Regions from separate parts of the Homo sapiens genome. Here regions 2 and 3 are each linked to region 1. Evidence: promoter capture Hi-C in human tissues and cell types (Jung and others, 2019). All regions are on one chromosome and are shown on one strand. Each heading gives the region's core, a stretch centred on a gene start or on the middle of the fragment in contact. The rest is flanking DNA. Distances are from core to core; before and after follow the strand shown. Region 1 holds the start of GALNTL6 (polypeptide N-acetylgalactosaminyltransferase like 6). Region 2 overlaps GALNTL6 (polypeptide N-acetylgalactosaminyltransferase like 6). Region 3 has its middle 54 kb from the start of GALNTL6.

Region 1 (4,487 bases), core at 477-2,976:
GATTTAGTTGGCCCAATTCACCTGAACATAGACATGCATGCCAAATGGAAAGCAAAAACCTATCCTTGTCATTAAACTTGCACCAAACCCACTCCCACCTCCATAGCTGAACAGTTACCTTTCATCCACCTCAAGTCAAAATCAACCTAAGACCAATGGTGAAAGATTATCTTCTCTTCTTCTTGACCTGTCTTATCCTTCTTTACTAGTTGTACATGTCACGATGTTACTGGCTGCAATCTTAAAACATCTACTTGCTTAAACCCCAAAGTCTCTAGAGTCTTGTAATAATCAGCTCTGTCAAGACTTGGGGGAAAACCCAAGGCGATCCCACACCGGCTTTCTCGAGTCCCCGCGCGAGGATCACTGCCTTACCAATCCTTGTGTGATCTTTCTCTGGGTGGCACTTACCTGCTGCTCCCCGGGCTCCGCTGACTTCACCAGGTGCTTATCCTTGTACAGAGACCAGAGACCAACGTTAGGCAGGAAAATTAAAGCCACCGTGAACAACAAAGTCATCTGCAGAAATCTCTTCTGTTTCCTCTTCATTGCAAATGGTAACAGAGAAGAAAAGTTAAAGGAGATGGCTCCCTGACTGCTTCTTGTGTTTAATGTCAAATTCCTTTCCTCTCCCCTGCGAAGCACCAGAAACTGAGAAGCTACAAACTTTTGTTGCGTGCTCAGCACCAATCTGCAGGATTCAGAGGGAGTTGGCCATCTGCAGAACAAACGCACAGTTACTTTCCCCCCAGAAAACTATGACGAAGGCATTATCTATTGGCTTAGAAATAAATGACTTGACTAAAGAAATCATTAAGCCCATTGACCTCCATTAATATAAAGCAATAGAGTAAATATGGTCGTTTCATTGACTAAAGGTAAGTTATAAAAAAGTCAACAGCCTGCTAGATACTTAGGTAACTGGGAGTTTTTGTTGCTGTTGTTGTTGTTCGCCCCCCACCTCCTTAGTGTGGGAGGGCTGGGTCGGGGTGGAGCGGGTTAGGAGACAGAACTGAGAGGAACTGGCTCAACCCCTTCAAGTGTCAGGAAGAAAAGTGTCCGCTTTTGACATTGGAACAGCGTCACCTTCTTCGTCTTCCCTGAACATCTTTTCCTGTGCTCCCCTTGGGATAACCCACCTGAACTCAAGTTCAACTCCCTCCGGAGCCAGCTTGCCGGCGGGCTCCACCGGGATCCAGGGACTCGGGATCCGGGCAGAACTCCGGTTCGGATGGAGGTCCACGAAGTGCCGGACCCTCGCGCGCTGTCTACACGCTCCTCTGCAGGCAGCGGCTGGGAGCCCCGGGAACCTGGTGGAAAGGAGGCTACAGATGTCAGCGGAGTCCAGCCAGGAAGTGGTGGCGCCGCGACGTCCCTTCCTCGCGCGGTCCTCGGAATGCGATCCTCTGAGAAGTGAGCGCTCTGCCCATCAATCTCGTCCCTTCCCCCGGTGACGCTCTCACGCTCCGCTGTTCATGTTACCATTCTTTTCTGGCAACTGAACGAACCCACAGGACCATCACGAGCACCTAAAGGGCAATATTTTTTGATCTCCTCTTCTCGTAAAGGGGATGGAGGCGGAGAAACCGAAGTCTGTGCTGGGCTTGGAAGCGGACGAGGGCGCTGCGAGGAGGAGCGGAAGGCGGAGATGCGCCGCGGCTGCACACGGTCGCCCGCGCCCCACTCCCCGGCGCCTGCCTTCCGCGGAGACGTCGCTGGTGTCTGCCACGTGCGGCAGCCCGGAGCCCAGGAGGGGAGGGCGGGCCGCCTGGCGGGGGTGGGCAATGCCTCCCGGCCTCCAGACGCTATATAAACAGACCCGGACGCGAGGCAGCGGCGGAGGGCGAGCGTGACGCTGGAGGAGGAGTGGGAGCTCCCAGCCTGCGCGGGTCCTCTCTTTACCTGCCAGGGCTTTTCCGGGTAATCTGGGACCGACAGGGATGCCAGCACCCCGTCATCTCACCCAAAGGGCGCCAGGCCAGAGATTCCTGGGGAAAAGTCGCCGGCTGCAGGCGGTTGTCCCAGGAATTCCTCCATGGTGCCGGCGGGAGCGCGGCGAGCCGGGGCGCGGCGGCTGCGGGAGGTGGAGGCGACCCGGGACAGGGCCGGTCCCAGGGAGAGGGGATCCCCCGAGCCGCGCGTTCCGCCGTTCAGGCCAGGTAGGGGGTGGGGAAGGAGGAGGAAGAGGATCCCGAAGCAAGACAGAGCTGAGGCTCAGAGTTCTCAGGCAGCAGCTTCTGGAGGACACCGTGGAGACCCAAGGCGGCTTTATTTGGGTCTGCAAACACCCGGGGCCCCGGTTAAGATTCGGCAGGGCCACCCCGCTCCTCCCCCGCCTTGCACGACCGCACTCCGCGCGCCTTGTCACTGCGAGGGCTACCTGTCCTCGCACACTCCTCCGCGATGGCCAGAAAACGTGGGACTCGAGATAAGACTCTGGCAGATGGTACTCCTCCCTCCGCCTAACGTATCAATGCACCAACGCCCCTGACCGCACACTCAGGAACCTGTGGCAGCCTCGCCAAGGGACAGCGTGCCCAGCACCGTGCACTGGGCACTCTTGGATCTGGAGCTCACAACTCCGGAAGGAATGGGGACTTAGATGAGGTGACAGACATGCATGCATGCAATGCAGGCTGAATCCGCCTGTCTGGAGCCAAAAATAAACGCCATGGTCACCTCTTTGTTACAACCTGGATATGATGCCCACATGCGTGGGGTAGACATGCTTGGGATAGATAAGCCTGTGGACTTCAGACGGTATTTTCTCTTTCCCTTTTTTCTTCTTTCTCGTCCTCATCTCTGTCCCTCCCTCCTTTTCTTCTCGCCCTATCTCTTCCTCCCTTTCTACTCTCTCTAGTGTCTCACTTGAGAAAGACCTAGATTTGAGTGGGAAGAGTTATGCCTTAAACTGTTCTCATTATAAATTCAAAATGTACTTGAAGAATACAGATCGACTGTATGATGGCATGAATAAAGCGCTATGCTGTAATATTTGTTTTTGTGAATCACTTGAATTTTAAAATAGTCTAAAAATATATTTAATAAATGTTGTTGAATGTGTCCTTTATATAAAGACCAATTACCTTTAGATTTTATATAAATGCAACTTAATCTAGAGTGCAAGGGACTTAATTCCTCACCCCCACCCCCACACATACACTATGCCTTTTGTAGTCTGCGTTATTTTCTAACCTTTTTCTCTCTAAGGAAGTGCAGTTTTGAAACACAGAAATGTGAATTCTGGGAAGCAACATAGCAGGGAGAGGTTTCCTGGGAATATTGTCAGGTGCTCAAGGAAATAAATTTGGAGAATCATTTAATTATATTGGATATATTTTTAAGTACTGATACAGTTATTAATTTTCAAAGTAAAATAACTCAAAAGTGCACTTGGAATTAAAAAAGTAAAATCTCTCACATTTTAAACAATACCTGTTTTTTAATACCTTAAAAAATAGTCTTGGATCAGGAATAGACATACTAGCATTCTATTTGTTGAATCCAGGGTGTTGAGTTGAAACATGCTTCACTGTTGTTAAACTAGCAAATGGTCTTGCATACAGCACCCATTCAGAGAAAATCGTTAATTACTATTACTTCCCCAATCAAGTACACGCAGAATACATGGTAGAAACTGAAAGGAGAAAATTACTATGTTTACTTCTGTTTTATAGCATAGTTCCAGACCATAACTTTAGCTTTTTCTCCTTTTCTGTATAATTTATTTATTTATTTTTGATTCAGAGCATAATTTCTCTTTTCCCTTCAGTCTGGTATTCTTTCACAATTCCTCATGTAAATTACCAACAGATGACAATGTGTCTAGCTAAAATGGGTATTTTAGGTTGAGTTTACAAACAAAAAACTTCAGACGACAGTTAATTTTTTTGCTCAGATAATCCAGATTAAATGCCAATATAAATGTGTGTGGATGTTGTATGTATATATGTGTATATCATATATATTATATATAATATATATTATATGTATAATATATGTGTATATTATATATAGAATACACATGGACATGGTCTTCTACATTTTGACTTACATAGAAAGTCACCCATTCTATGCCCTATTTGCACTTCCATTCTGTTAGGATTCAACTGGCAACCTCAGATTATCAGAGTCCCATGCTGCTAATAATGTACTAATAACTATAGGGACACATTGGAAAGAAAACAGCAATATTCAGTGACCTTGAATAACTTACACTCTAGTTGAAAATGCAACATAAAGACAATAGAAATAAATTACCAAAGGTGCTTGGTACTAACCTTAAATTGAGCCAAATTTAAGCCCTATATTTAAGGAAGCAGAAGGTTATTGCTTTAGTTATCTCTCTACTTCAAAATGTAGCGACTTAAAACAAATTATTTTGCTATCTCTCTTATGATTCTGTGCATTGAATAGGCTCAGCTGGGTGGTTACACTTCCTGTGACGCAGGCTGAGGCCGAGGAGGTTGAATGGGCTGAGCCAAGAT
Region 2 (4,023 bases), core at 553-3,052, 49 kb before region 1:
TCCTTCTGGGTGCCATGGCTCACGCCTGTAATCCCAGCACTTTGGGAGGCCGAGGCAGGTGGATCACCTGAGGGCAGGAGGTCGAGACCAGCCTGGCCAACATGGTGAAACCCCATCTCTACAAAAATACAAAAAAAAAATTAGCTGGGCATGGTGGCGGGCACCTGTAACCCCAACTACTTTGGGGGCTGAGGCAGGAGAATCGCTTGAACCTGGGAGGCGGAGGTTGCAGTGAGCTGCCATTGTGCCATTTCACTGCAGCTTGGGCGACAAGAGTAAAACTATGTCTCAAAAAAAAAAAAAGTGTTCCTTTTCTCCTCAGGTATTATCATTATTTAATGCATGCACTTTGTCCTACTAGGAGTTTTCACTCTGGAGGACTTATAATTTTTTTCTTGACTAATGATGAATATCCAGCTCAGTGTTAACTTTAATAATCTAGTAAAGCCTTTACAGAAACTTTAGAACAACTATTGTAACATATTACTTAGCTACTGAATTACAGAAAGATGAAATAGATCACCAAGAATGTAATGAGAACAGATCAAAAAGTCTGAAGGCAAAAAACTAGAGCCAGAATGTCTTAGCTATTTTAAAGAAAACAGGGTAGCAATTACCAAAAATACATGAATTGAAGTTAGCTTCTTTCAGAAATTCTATTTCTTTTATTTACAAAAACACCACTCTTCTAGTCTCTCCATATGAAATAATAGAAAACCATATAGTTATATTAGTTAAACACAGAGGTCTACAATAGATCCCAAAAAGGCAATTGACATTGATCATAAAAAATATGTTTATTGATTAGTTTCTTCAGTCAAGTGAAATAAAAGAGAATCCTCCATATTTATCACCATTTTTAATTCTAGGGCCTTGTACTCCTTTCAAGGATGGTATTTCATTCACTTCCTGAATGACTGGTATTTCACGCAACTTCATGTCTGCCTTCAATTCAATCCTGTAAGCCAATGCTAGTTAGTTTTCAGTGAATTAGATACCTAACTTTCCTACATACAAAATTCTTTGAAATAAGAGTTTGTAAGGTAAAATTTCTGTTTCTTCAGATGACACATTACTCCATATCTCTATTGTCAAATATATTTTGGTCTTCACAATATGCATTTTGAAAATATCAATCACTTTGAAGTATTCACTTATAATCAATACATTCTAATTCAAAATCTAATTATATAGGTCCTGAGAAAAACTCAGATAATTTGGGGGCTAATAAAATAAATGACATTCATACACTTAAGACTTTTTAGGTTATTATATTTGATCAGTTGACTCTATACCACTAACAAAATATAATTTAAGCAAATATTTACAAAGGAAAATATTCAGTCTTACTAAAGTCAAGATATTTAAAATTACATTATTACATAAAATATGACATTCTTTATAAAATGCAGTCGACTTTCTAATAAGGCATAATTTCAATACCATAAGTCATTTACGTTTAAAAAAAGCCTTGGTCTAGTCTATTCATCTCATTTCTCCTTAAGTAAGATGCTAGTATTTGCTTGCTTACTTTCTAAAATATGATAATTACAATATATTTTCCAAATTCTCAAAAACAGTTTTATATATTCAGAATTTAAATAAATTAACATGTATTTAGAATATTTCAGACTTTAAATAAATTTCATTAATACATGATTAAACAGATGCTCAGTTCACACTGAGGTTTTATTTTTCTAAGTTTCTGCAGTCTCATCTCAAATCAATGGCCTGGTAATGCTTTTCCCTAAAGAATGAAAAACTACTACCAAAGACAAATTACTTTCATTCATATTATCTTCTTCAATAATTCTACATATGAATATGCTAATAATGGAATGTGACATTTCAAAAATTATCTCTCAAATAAAATTCTAATTTATTTCTGAAGACCTCTGCCTGTTACATAAATTGCCATAGTATAGAACTTGTGAATTGCAATGGAAAAATCTAGGTTGAAATACTGGTTATCCCAAGCTTGCTAAATTATTGTCCACAAGTTTCTTTACCTCGTGTCTACCTAGTATTTCTCAACTTTAGTATGGAAGAAATACCACCTTCCATATAAGACCATTGGAAAGAATAAGTGAAATAATTAAATAATTAAAGCAAAGCCTTTAATAAAATTGATCATAGTAAACACTATTAGTGGCCAGTGGTCACTACATATAGTGGTAGTGGTTAAGTAATAGCATCAGACATTAATAATATAAGCGATTTTGTAAAACATACTGTCAAAAAATACCATCAGATATGTTTTTTAAATTCTGAATACCTGCTCTACACAAACAAATGATATTTGTTTTTATAAATATCTCAAAATTATTTTGGAAGATAGATTTACACAGAAATACCTATGAAAGTTGTAAAGTTCTGTGGATGATATAAATAATAATATAGGTAAGTGGCACAGGATTTTAGACTTAGTGGGAGTGGCTGGGAACAACTTCAGAGGGGAAGCGGTAAGTTTTCCTGGGTCTTAAAAACTGAGGAAGATTGATGGAAGAGAGGAAAACACATCCCAAGAAAAAAGAAGGATATGCTTAAATGCACTGAGTTTCAAAAGTGTTTGAGAAGTGAAAAACATACTCAACTGATGTGAATAGAGGAGACAGGTCAGGAAAAGCAAGCTGGTGTTAAATTGTAAAGGGTTACAAATGTCAATTAAACTATTTTATTTGATTATCATACTGGTAGTGACTTCAACACTGACAGAATAACTGTTAACTGGACTGGCCTTCCTGTAGTAAATGACTATTAAACTAGATTAATTATATGGGTATAATTTTAAAGCATTGAACCAGAAGTAGCACACACTGTGATCCTTGAGGAAAGGAACACTCAGGAGGTAAACTCTCTCTTCATACTGGCTTCCTATCTGGGGCGCCTTTCAGTGAATGAGACATGGAGCTATGCTCAATATTGCAGAGCTGAGGAGGCTTAGACTGCAGTTTTAATTTGCAGAAATGGGTGGAATTTGTACAATACGATATTGGACAGGAGATATGTTGGTCATAAATCTTCATGGGGTCTTTGGCTGAGAAATGAACTGAACAGGTACAGAGTGATACTGTGAGAGGCCTAATGGAGAATTATGGCTACAAGCTGAATGCTGAATGGAGGAGGTATCAGAGGTTGTTCTATTCTGGAAGACTTTGGAATTGGCGTTATCACCCAGCAGATGGGAGAAATCTTACTGGGCACCTAAGACACTCACTTGTAATGTCAGAAAAGCCACACTTTAAGGCAAAAATGACTATATTCTGTATTAAGGGCTGCATTCCAGGACAAGGAACAGAACCGAAACAGATCCATATTAAGAAATGCATCCTCAGAGGAAGAACAGTATCTACCAGTAATTTACTGATTGGTCAAATAAAATCAACACCCTGTTAAGGAAGACAATATAATCAATGCTCCTCAAAATCTGTCATTTCCAATGTCCAGCTTCCATTAAAAATGTTAAACATGTGAAGAAGCAGATTCAGTGAAAGGGCTAAAGGATTATAAAGTAGAGTCTTTTTTCTGGTGGTTATTTTCTAGTTGGTATACTGATTGTTCCACAATGAGCAATCTAGAGGAGTGAGGATTAAAGCCAGGTTGTCAGGGTGCTTAAGCAAAGCCATGACAATATATATTGCATTCATTGACTCTAGGTCCTATTATTTTACTGGATATTTCTCCTATAGACTATGAAGGTCCAAATTTCTGCAATGTATATGGTAGAGGGAGTAGAGCAAGACTATAAAATCAAATAGAACTTTGTTCAAATACCAGCTTTAATATTTACTAGCCATGTGGTGTGGGAAATTTAGTTTTCTGATTTTATGTTCCTCATCAGCAAATGGATTTAATATTGTATTTGTTGAGAAAAAAACCTAAGGTAATGTTTGAACAGGGCTTGACACATTCTATAAGCTAAATATGTGGTGACAAACATTATTATGGATTATTTAATCAAATAATGGTGTTCTTATGTGGACAGTAAAAGGTTAACTCAGTAGGTCTGAATTACTCAAATCC
Region 3 (4,163 bases), core at 1,221-3,720, 55 kb after region 1:
ATTTAGCCCATTTACATTTGAGGTTAATATTGTTATGTGTGAATTTGATCTTGTCATTATGGTGCTAGCTGGTTGTTTTGCCCATTAGTTAATGCAGTTTTTTCATAGTGTCAATGTTCTTTACAATTTGGTATGTTTTTGCAGTGGCTGGTACATGTTTAGTGATTCCTTCAGGAGCTGTTGTAAGGTATGGCTGGTGGTGACAAATCCCTCAGCATTTACTTGTCTGTAAAGGATTTTATTTCTCCTTCCTTATGAAGCTTTATTTGGCTGGATATGAAATTCTAGGTTGAAAATTCTTTTCTTTGAGAACATAGAATATTGGCCCCCACTCTCTTCTGGCTTGTAGGGTTTCTGCAGATAGATCCGCTGTCAGTCTGATGGGCTTCCCTTTGTGGGTAATCTGACCTTTCTCTCTGGTCTAACTTTTTTCCTTCATTTCAACCTCGGTGAATCTGACGATTATATGTCTTCGGGTTGCTCTTCTTGAGGAGTATCTTTGTGGTGTTCTCGTATTTCCTAAATTTGAATGTTGGCCTCTCTTGCTAGGTTGAGGAAGTTCTCCTGGATAATATCCTGAAGCGTGACTTACAACTTGGTTCCATTCTCCCTGTCACTTTCAGGTACACCAGTCAAACGTAGAATGAGTTTTCACATAGTCCCATATTTCTTGGAGGCTTTGTTCATTCCTTTTTATTCTTTTTTCTCTAATCTTGTCTTCTCTCTTTATTTCATTAAGTTGATCTTCAGTCACTGATATCCTTTCTTCTGCTTAATCGATTTGGCTATTGATACTTGCGAATACTTCACGAAGTTGTTGTGCTGTGTTTTTTCAGCTCCATCAGGTCGTTTATGTTCTTCTCTACATTGGTTATTCTGGTTAGCAATTCGGCTATCCTTTTTCCAAGGTTCTTACCTCCTTGCATTGGGTTAGAACGTGCTCCTTTAGCTCAGAGGAGTTTGTTATTACCCACTTTCTGAAGCCTACTTTTGCCAGTTCATCAAACTCATTCTCCATTCAGTTTTGTTCCTGTGCTGGTGAGGAGTTGTGATCCTTTGGAGGAGGAGAGGTGTTCTGGTTTTAGAATTTTCAGCCTTTTTGCACTGTTATTTTCTAATTTTTGTGGATTTCTCTACCTTTGGTCTTTGATGTTGGTGACCTACGGATGGGATCTTTGAGTGGATGTGCTAATCCTTTCTGTCTATTTCTTTTCCTTCTAATAGTCAGGCCCCTCTGCTGCTAGTCTGCTGGAGTTTGCTGGAGGTCCACTCCCGACGCTGTTTGCCTGGGTATCACCAGCAGAGGCTGCAGAGCAGCAAAGATTGCTTCCTGTTCTTTCCTTTGGAAGCTTCAACCCAGAAGGGCACCTGCCAGATGCCAGTCAGAGCTCTCCTGTATGAGGTGTCTGTCGGCCCCTACTGGGAGGTGTCTCCAAGTCAGCATACACAGGGGTCAGGGACCCACTAGAGGAGGCAGTCTGACCCTTAGCAGAGCTCGAACACTGTGCTGGGAGGTCTGCTGCTCTCTTCAGAGCTTCCAGGCAGGGACTTTTAAGTCTGCTATAAGGCCCTGACTGGGACTGCTGCATTTTTAAAGAGGTACCCTTTCCAGAGAGGAGAAATCTGGCAATCTGGCCACAGCTGCCTTGCTGAGCTGCTGTGATCTCTGCCCAGTTAGAAGTTCCCAGCACCCTTGTTTACACTGTGACCTCAAACCGCCCTACTTGAGCCTCAGCAGTGGCGGACGCCCCTCCCCGTACCAAGCTGGACTGTCCCAAGTGGATCTCAGATTGCTGCTGTGTTGGCAGTGAGAATTTCAAGCCAGTGGCTCCTAGTTTCCTGGGCTCCATGGGGGTGGGACCCACCAAGCCAGACCACTTCGCTCCCTTGCTTCAGCACCCCTTTCCAGGGGAGTGAACAGTTCTGTCTCACTGGCATTCCAGGCACCACTGGGGTATGGAAAAAAAAGAGCTCCTGCAGCTAGTTCAGTGTCTGCCCAATTTGCCACCCAGTTTTGTACTTGAAACCCTGGGCCCTGGTGGGGTAGGCACAAGAGGGGATCTCCTGGTTTGTGGGTTGCGAAGACCGAGGGACAAGCGCTTTATCTGTGCGGGAATTCCTCAGGCTCAGACCTTGACGGCTTCCCTTGGGTAGGGGGAAAATTCCCCGACCCCTTGCGCTTCCCAGGTGAGGCGACACCCCACCCTGCTTCAACTCACCCTCCGTGGGCTGCACTCACTCTCCAACCAGTCCCAATGAGATGAAACAGGTACCTCGGTTGGAAATAAAGAAATCACCCATCTTTTGTGTCAGTCTTGCTGGGAGCTGCAGACCAATGCTGTTCCTATTCAGTCATCTTGCATCCACCACACATAAACTTTTTAAGGAATTAAATTTTAATTTTCGTTATGTTTAAAAATCTACTTATCACTCAACATTTATTTTAAACTGATAAATTAGATTTTTGTATTGTTTGGACAAGCTAATGGATATGATTGCACAAAGTCAGTTGTTCAAAAGTTACTGGATACCAATGTCATTTAAGATCTAAAATGTGATGTTTGCATCGTTAATCAGTGAAATTATATATTTGAAAAGGGAGGATGTGATCTTCAGAATGTCCTGCAAATCATTACTAAAAAACTCTCAAAATATTGTCTGAGGCCTGATAGATATTTCAGATGGATATTGGTTATTAGAATCTGTCAACAAAAGTAAGAACATCGTTTTTGTTTGCAGGGTATACATATTCCTGGGGAAAAGTACAAAGATATGGCATAACAGATTTGATGAAATTCATTTGCTTTTGCCAAAACAAATCTACAACATGATACAATGAACACCTACCCCCAAATTATTTTTCTTAACTACTGAAGCTTTTATATCTTGTGTGAATCAGTCATCCTGCCAGAACTGTTTAAGATGCTATATTTGGAGTTCAATATACATCGCTTGTCCACGTTTCACAGATAACACAGCTTTTCACCGAATTAAAGGATATGATAGCGATTCAAAGTGTTGCTTTGTTCTACATTTATATTCAAAATCCTTTGGGTTGCTTCAGAGCCTGAAATAGCTCCAAAAAGGCTGTAAAGAAATATAGATACTAAAAAAATACCTGAAATTAACTTAAAATTTTTTTTGAGACGGAGTCTCACTCTGTCGCCCAGGCTGGAGTGCAACGGCACAATCTCAGCTCACTGCAACTTCTGCCTTCTGGGCTCAAGCAATTCTCCTGCCTCAGCCTCCCAAGCAGCTGAGATTACAGGCCCCTGCCACTGCCCCCAGCTAATTTTTGTATTTTTAGTAGAGACGGGGTTTCACATGTTAGTCAGGCTGGTCTCAAACTCCCCACCTCAGGTGATCTGCCTGCCTCAGCCTCCCAAAGTACTGGGATTACAGGCGTGAGCCACCAGGCCCGGCTAAAATTTTAACTTTGTTTTGGAGCAAATAAAAGTGTTCATATAAACATTTATTTTGTTTGCATTTCTTCAGTCTTTGCTAGATCCTTCCAACCCTCTCTCCTCTCTAGCACTTTCTCATAATCGCCATCCTTCTGTTATGTTCAGAGGTTGACTGACATTGTTCAGTCTCCACAGAAAAATGGGGGAGAGAAAAAAAGAACAAACCAGAATCATCTTTAGCTAGTGGAGTGTGGGAAAGGAAGCTAGAAACACTCATTTATTATTACTCTTATGATGTAGGAAATTGAATAGCAGAAACTACACATCAAGCTGCTGAAAATAAATGCCAATACAATCTATGATTTTTCTATGGTTTTATGATCACTTTTCTGTGATGATAATACATTTTTCATATTTTAATTATGAGTACTCAGTTAATAATATTATCTGCTTTCAGCCAACATGAATATGTTTATGGCTCTCTCCAAGTAAGACTTGGTCTTGAGTTCTTATTTTTGAAATATTTTCGATAGCTAAAATGTAGCAGAGCTCCATTCATCATTGTGATGTGAAGTTTCACTTCAATTCAAAACTCGAAGCCACTAGAAAAATTCACATAATAAATAAACTAACATGACTCACGTTTAAACAGAAAGAAAGTAAGTGCCTGTCTGTCCTGTTGTGCTGATGCCTAAGAATTATTTTGAAATGAAAACTTAAAGCTTCTCTCTATATTAAAGCTTTATTTAACAAACTTAA

The links. Contacts are between HindIII fragments. The study calls those that stand out against the background at their distance.
Region 2: a fragment that was not itself captured here is called in contact with the fragment with the promoter of GALNTL6 in region 1 in 3 of the 25 tissues and cell types used here (dorsolateral prefrontal cortex, hippocampus and lymphoblastoid cells).
Region 3: a fragment that was not itself captured here is called in contact with the fragment with the promoter of GALNTL6 in region 1 in 2 of the 25 tissues and cell types used here (aorta and heart left ventricle).

What each region holds. Positions count from the first base shown.
Region 1 is chr4:171,810,643-171,815,129 of GRCh38, reverse strand. It overlaps GALNTL6 (polypeptide N-acetylgalactosaminyltransferase like 6), which reads right to left and starts at 1,726. Exons shown (of 13, transcript NM_001034845.3): 1 at 1,140-1,726; 2 at 412-718. The coding sequence starts at 549. LOC441052 (a long non-coding RNA gene) reads left to right here and starts at 1,523. Exons shown (of 1, transcript NR_134656.1): 1 at 1,523-2,992. RefSeq lists an enhancer at 1,366-1,515 and a silencer at 1,756-1,805. The HindIII fragment of the contact is 16,056 bases long and covers 1-4,487 here.
Region 2 is chr4:171,860,042-171,864,064 of GRCh38, reverse strand. The region is part of intron 2 of GALNTL6 (polypeptide N-acetylgalactosaminyltransferase like 6); the gene reads right to left. Among named protein-coding and RNA genes, the nearest start is that of GALNTL6, 49 kb to the right of the region's middle. The HindIII fragment of the contact is 5,882 bases long and covers 1-4,023 here.
Region 3 is chr4:171,757,036-171,761,198 of GRCh38, reverse strand. No RefSeq gene overlaps it. Among named protein-coding and RNA genes, the nearest start is that of GALNTL6, 54 kb to the left of the region's middle. The HindIII fragment of the contact is 3,330 bases long and covers 806-4,135 here.